Linked DNA regions of Homo sapiens: region 2 is linked to region 1. The links are contacts of gene promoters, found by promoter capture Hi-C in human tissues and cell types (Jung and others, 2019). All regions are on one chromosome and are shown on one strand. Each heading gives the region's core, a stretch centred on a gene start or on the middle of the fragment in contact. The rest is flanking DNA. Distances are from core to core; before and after follow the strand shown.

Evidence for each region. The method cuts DNA at HindIII sites, captures the fragments that hold promoters and counts their contacts. A contact is called where the count stands out against the background at its distance.
Region 2: a fragment that was not itself captured here is called in contact with the fragment with the promoter of DAAM1 in region 1 in 1 of the 25 tissues and cell types used here (spleen).

The regions. Positions count from the first base shown.
Region 1 is chr14:59,186,548-59,190,074 of GRCh38, reverse strand. DAAM1 (dishevelled associated activator of morphogenesis 1) reads right to left here and starts at 1,408. Exons shown (of 25, transcript NM_001270520.2): 1 at 1,307-1,408. RefSeq lists enhancers at 256-415, 126-885, 1,666-1,905 and silencers at 776-995, 1,056-1,195. The HindIII fragment of the contact is 8,246 bases long and covers 1-3,527 here.
Region 2 is chr14:60,142,799-60,145,898 of GRCh38, reverse strand. PCNX4 (pecanex 4) reads right to left here. Exons shown (of 11, transcript NM_001330177.2): 11 at 1-3,100. DHRS7 (dehydrogenase/reductase 7) reads left to right here. Exons shown (of 7, transcript NM_016029.4): 7 at 886-1,780. The coding sequence ends at 933. Among named protein-coding and RNA genes, the nearest start is that of DHRS7, 21 kb to the left of the region's middle. The HindIII fragment of the contact is 4,222 bases long and covers 1-3,100 here.

The sequences.
Region 1 (3,527 bases), core at 159-2,658:
GCAGTGGCAGCGGCTAAGATTCCGAAGGCAGGAGTCGCCATGGCAACGGGATTCATCTTGCAGGCAACTCCGCTTCGATTCACTGGGTCCTGCTCGAATCTCAAGAAACTACCAGCAAAACGGTCACGGTGGCATTTGCTCTTGATGCTCTCCAGAAAGTGGAGATGAAGGAGAGGGGAATGGAGTTCAGGCATCACTAAATATGTTATGGGGCGAGAGGTAGCTCCGCAAAGCCAGGCCGTGAACAACTTGAGACCTTAGCAGGGTTTGATGAATGAGTAAACGAACAAATGAAGGTACTAGGAAAGGCAAAGAACATCCAGAGGACTGAGAGCTCTGGGCCTCCTGCACGTCTCCACTCAGAGGGCAAGCCGATCACAAGCAGTTGGCTTTCAGAACCAGCTGGGTAAACCCGATTATCCAGCCCTCCTGCCCCACAGCGAGCCTAATCATTAGATTATCCGACACCTCCACCCCCGCGCTACCACCTCCTGGCCCAGGGCTTCAGGGCAGGCGCTTCGCCCCAGCCCAGGTGCTCTACACCAAGGGACCGTGGAGACTGAGATGCGCCCTCCCGAGAGGGACGGGCGGCAAAAGCCCTCTGCGGTGCCTCACAACCGGGTCCGCAGGCGGCGCAGCCTCCCCGGCCGCCAACACCCTGCTCTCCCTCCGCAACGCCCGATTTCCCTTCTCTCTGTTTTGAAACATTTAGGTCCAACTTAGTCTGAATTACAGGCGCTCCGTCCCTTTCGAATGGGGCTGGAAGTGAGGGTGCCAGGGGCACTGGGGGCTCTGCTCGGACGCGAACGGGTACACGAGTCCCTCCTTCCCTGTCGCCACCGCCGTGTCCACCAAGCCTGCCTCGGGGTTCTCCCTCTCGGAGCCGCCGGGCCGGGAGCTCGCGGACGCCGCTGCAGTACCCGCGGCCCCAGCCCCGGGGAGCCTTCAGCAAGGCGGCGAGTGTTACCCCGCCAGCTCCTCGGCCAGCCGGGCGCCTTAGAAAGAAAGGGAGGGACCCCAGTCCTTGGGGGCGTCTTCCTCCCTGCTGCCTCGGTTTGCGTTGCGCTGCAGCCATTTTCCCACCCCCAGCTAGGCAGCCGAGAGCTGTCTCGGTCCCGTTCCCACCCAGACCCAACCTGAAGGACGGGTTTAATATTTACCTACTGGCCCGGGAGCTCCGGGGAGGCAGCAGGAGGGCGCGCCGCGAACCCAGCGCCCAGCCCACGGAAGCACGCCCACCCCCGCACCACTGAGCAGTGCCACTTAATGAATGAGTGCGGCGGGCAAGGAGGAGCGTCCCCCTTACCTGAGCAGCCCCTGCATGCTGGAAAGGCGGCTCTGCACTCTGGGTACAATGGGATCCGGTTAAACAGTTTCCTTCACAGCCGCTCGTAGGTTACTAACTCGCAGGTGACATCACCCTCTCCTCGCCTGATAGGATACAAAGTGGCTCCCACTGCGCATGGACGCTCCGGTCGGGCGCGCAGACTCCTGGGAGTAGTGGTCCCAATCTATTAGCGGAGCCGGGACAGCTTTGCTGTCGGGACTCGCGGAACTACATCTCCCGACACACTCCTCCGCCCTTCTGCCCCGCCTCTTATTCCCGCCCCCTTCAGGACCCGCCCCCTCCCAGCCTTACAGCCTTGCAGTGTTAGCGGTGGTCGTTCCGAAGCCGAGCTGCGGACCGCACGGGAGAGTGGGAGGGCTGCCCTGCGGTCGTGTGTGTTGACTTGACCTCTACTTTGCCCGGCGCGGGCTCTGAAGGATCGGAGAGGTCCGGGGCTCGCGTGGTCCGGCCAGGCTCGCTCTAACTGGTCTTTCTTGGTCCCTGCTGGGAAGGGACGATTAAGACTTTTCTGCCTTCCCCAGGCGTAGCAGCTAATTCAGAGGGCTTACTGTTTTCTGGGTTAAATACGGTCCTCGAATTCTCCCCGCTCAACACTTCCAGAGGATGGGGCGACGCCGGTCCCAAGGCGGAGGAATCTCCTTGTACCCCCTCAATTCACCTTTCTCTTTTCTGCTTCCCGTTTAACGGAGACAAGGTGACCAGGCAGAACGCGGGGAACCACTTAGTCGGCTGAGCTGACAGAATAACGGAGGTTGTCACTACCAGAAGTGCGGTGTGATAGACTAGACAGTCGCCGCAACCCTCCGTCAGGGCGCCTGCTGCTGCTGCAAAGATAATACTATCGTGCAGCCATGCTTTTGTTCATCCCTGCAGCAGACTTCCCGCGCTGGTGGCTCTCCACTCCCAGGAAGAAAACGTCCTTGTCTAAAGTTTTAATAATTGTGTATCTATGTATACACATGTTTTTAAATCCACAACACTCTCACCTCATTTTCCATACCTTTTCAAATATTTTTATAAAGACATTAAACCAAACAACATCGTGCCGTTCAAGAATTGCCCTGCTCTTAACACACCTAAATATTTATTTAAAGGTAAGCAAAAGGTGTGTAGCAGAATTCTGACCCTTTAGGCAGGTTGTATTGTTAATACATAATTTTTTCCGTGGCATTTTTCATTATTCAGTGAATACCAAGTGTCTTTTAATATGAAAAGAATCAATGCATTTAGTTACTCGAGTTGTAAATGTAAATTTTAATGGCATTTGATGTGTCTCAATTCCATATAATGATCAGCTCACACACCCGTTCCACTAGCAAAATCTCTAGAAGACTGTGCATCTTGTGAAAAAAAGGTTCACAATTAAGATTTCAGACAACTCCCTACTGAAGTGTTGGTGGAACTCTTATCATTTATTTTCTCCTTTCATTCTGCAACACTAAGTTGGGTTCAAGTGAAAAAATATTTATGAAATTAGTTGAGGATCTCAGGGGAGAGGAAATGCTTTGTTTTGCTCAGAGAGATGTTTAGCGATGAATTCTGATGTTCTTTTAACAAGCCTGTTCTTTATAGACAAGACCCACTTTTCTCCCCCGAAAGAAGATAGCTTTGAATGTTGCTCTTCTGTCCTCAGCTACTTCTTCCATTTCAAATATTATCTAAAATGAACTCTGACAATATAAATTTTCCCCTGGCCATCAGATCAAGGATATAATCACTGATATTCTAACTAATGGGTAGACTTAATGTAACGCAGTTCATGGTGGAAAAATATTCAGAGAGAAACTTGACCTGGGATGATTCTAAAGGCTCTTCTAATTTTATAACTGTGTAAAGCTTTTAGACTGAAACATAATCAGTGAGCCTGAAATTTATTGAGTCAATAAATTGAATGTGGAGCCTTTCTGTTAAGACAGGGCTTATCCTTGTAGATAAAAGTATGTTACTGAGGCACACTCTGAGGAGTAATTTTAATGGAGAAATCACCTTACAACAAGTTCTCTTGGCTCTTCAGTAATGAAGGAGAAGATGCAGTCTGTCTGAAAACAAAAATTCCATTCTCTTTAACAATATTATAGGGATGTGCCATGTGACATAGTCATCTCCATATAAAGGACAGCATACACAATAGACTGTAAGCACATAAATGTGGAGAAATGCACATGTGAACTGCTCTTCC
Region 2 (3,100 bases), core at 30-2,529, 960 kb before region 1:
TATGAATCTTTATTATTTTTAGGGATCAAGAACAGTGGCTACACTGAATTTTGTATTATCATTATTATTATTTTGTCTTTCTTAGTGCAAAGTTTTGAAAGTGGTAAATGCATATCTTCTGAAAAGAAACATCACATCTTGGGGATTATCAGGTTGCCTTGTTTTATTCCTTAAGCAATATACAAAAAGTTCACAAATAATTTTTTTTTCTTTTTATTTTTTTTGAGACAGAGTTTCCCTCTTGTTGGCCAGGCTGGAGTGCAATGGCGCAGTCTCAGCTCACTGCAACCTCCGCCTCCTGGATTCAAGCAATTCTCTTGCCTCAGCCTCCCGGGTAGCTGGGATTACAGGTGCACACCACCACACCCAGCTAATTTTTGTATTTTTAGTAGAGATGGGGTTTTGCCAGGCTGGTCTCTAACTCCTGACCTCAGGTGATCTGCCCACCTCGGCCTCCCAAAGTGCTGGGATTACAGGCATGAGCCACAGTGCCTGCCTGGCCACAAATAATTTTAAAGAGTTATCTTCCATATATCTCAATTCTACATAATCTGACTCATTGTTTTTATTTATTAGGGCAAGTCAGTGTAGGTATGATATGCTGATCCAGAAAAGTCATTATAGAGAATTTAGCATTGCAGTCCAATGCTATTTATACCTCCTCTAAACCAGAGATGATGCTAAACTCATTAGAAGTACTTTTGTGTACATCTAGAATTTTGGCTATGATTTTTAAATTCTAATTTAAGCAGTTTCTGAACTTTTGTAAAGATTCTTAATAGTGAATCATAATGATACAGCTCCTCAAAACAGAAGGACTTAAATGTTAAAAACTGGAGTAAATAGGAGTAGGTACTGATCCATGTTTCTGTCCCTCTTTTACAGGATGCAGACTCTTCTTATTTTAAAATCTTTAAGACAAAACATGACTGAAAAGAGCACCTGTACTTTTCAAGCCACTGGAGGGAGAAATGGAAAACATGAAAACAGCAATCTTCTTATGCTTCTGAATAATCAAAGACTAATTTGTGATTTTACTTTTTAATAGATATGACTTTGCTTCCAACATGGAATGAAATAAAAAATAAATAATAAAAGATTGCCATGAATCTTGCAAAAAAGGTATTAACTCATACTATATTCTTGGATAAAATAACCTTTTAAAATACTTTAGCACATATGCTTAAAATCTAAGTTAACAGATTTGTCTTAGTCCATTTGTGCTGCTATAACAAAATACCACAGATTTGGTAATTTATAAACAACAGAAATCTGTTTTTCCTGGCTCTTGAGGCTGGGAATTCCAAGACCAATGCACCAGCAGAATTAGTGTCTGGTGAAGGCTGATCTCTGCTTCCAAGATGGCACCTCATTGCTGCATCCTCCACAGTGGAGGAATGTATGTCCTCACATGGTGGAAGGGACAGAAGGGAAAGAGGAGCAAAATGCTTTCAAAAGAGCATTTAATCTCATTCATTACTCAGTCACCTCTTAAAGGCCACATCCTTTAATACTGTTGCTTTGGGGATTAAGTTTCGACATGAATTTTGGAGGGGACAAAAACATCCAAACCATAGCAACATAAATGTATAGAATATTTCACACAAAGCAGAGTGCTGGGTAATGACCAGATATAAAGAAGTATTTGAAATGACCTTACCTCCAAGATGCTTATACTCTTAGAAAAGTTGACAGGTACAGATGGCTGTAATTTGAAGCAGCAGGTAGGATTCATTGCACCTATTATTCATTAAACACCTGTTGTATGTCTTCTACTGTACTGGAGTGCTTAGTATTAGTTAATTAACTCATTCCTCATAACAGCCCACTAAGATAGATGGTATTACCTACCTTGATAGATGAAGAAAGACCAACAAGGTTTTACTTTTCCAAGGTCAAGGTCACAAAGCTAGTAAGGGGTAAAGCCATGATTAGATTCAGCTCAGGAAGATTCCACTGGCAACTCCTTACTTCTACTATTATTAATTTTACTTTAACATTTAACACCTTACAGCAGAAAACATGCACAGGCACTAATAGGAAATCAGCAGGAGTAACAGGTAAAGAAAAACATGGTCCTTATCTACAAGCAGTTCACAATTGAGCTGGAGCCAAAGTAACATACATAAAATAACTGTAGAATAGTTGTTGGGCAAGTTGGAAGCCACCCAAGTGGCTGTCCTTGGAAAAGGGGGAAGATGACATGTGGTAGAGGTACACGATGAGGTATAGCGGGTAGAAGCAATGGAATAAATGCATACATAACAACATGGATATGTACTAGAGGCATAGTCATAAGTGAAGAAATAAAGAAGCAACGCTAACACAATACTGTTCACATACACAAATATATGTGCACAGAAGATAGTGCTCATTTTGCAAGAAAACATACAACCTAATTAGATATATATTTAGGTATGGTAATAGTTACTTAGGATGGGGAGGAAACGGGGTGAACTATGGGGATAAAATATAATAAAGAGAGGACTCTTGCGTGACCAGTGATGAAAACTGGAATAACAACATTATTTATTGAATACAACACACCAATTATAAGAATGAAAAGATTGGAATAATTCTAGAATGCCACAAAATAACATATGTCATGTGGCCTGGTACAGACTATAAGCATAATAGTTCAGAAAAGGGAGATTTGCAGATAGAATCATGTGGAAGCCCTTCCTGATGAAGGTGTCACTTGCACTGGGCCTTGAAAGAAAGGAATTTAGACAGATGAAGAGAAGCTTCAGGAGGCCAGGTTCCAGGTCAGTTTTGTTTTATTCATCACTGAATCTCCAGTGCCTGCCTAGCATTGTGCCTGCTGATGTCTGTTCAACTACTCCAGCCAATGAATGGTAGAAGAGGTATATATAAATTAAAATCTTTAAAGATTCATCTGTATGGCATTTTTTTCTTTCTTTCTTTCTTTCTTTTGGAGATGGAGTCTTACTGTGTCGCCCAGGCTAGAGTACAGTGGCACTATCTCAGTTCACCGCAATCTCTGCCTCCTGGGTTCAAGCGATCCTCCTGCCTCAACCTCCCAAGTAGCTGGGACTACAGGTGTGCACCACCATGCCCGGCTAAGTTTTGTATTTTTAGT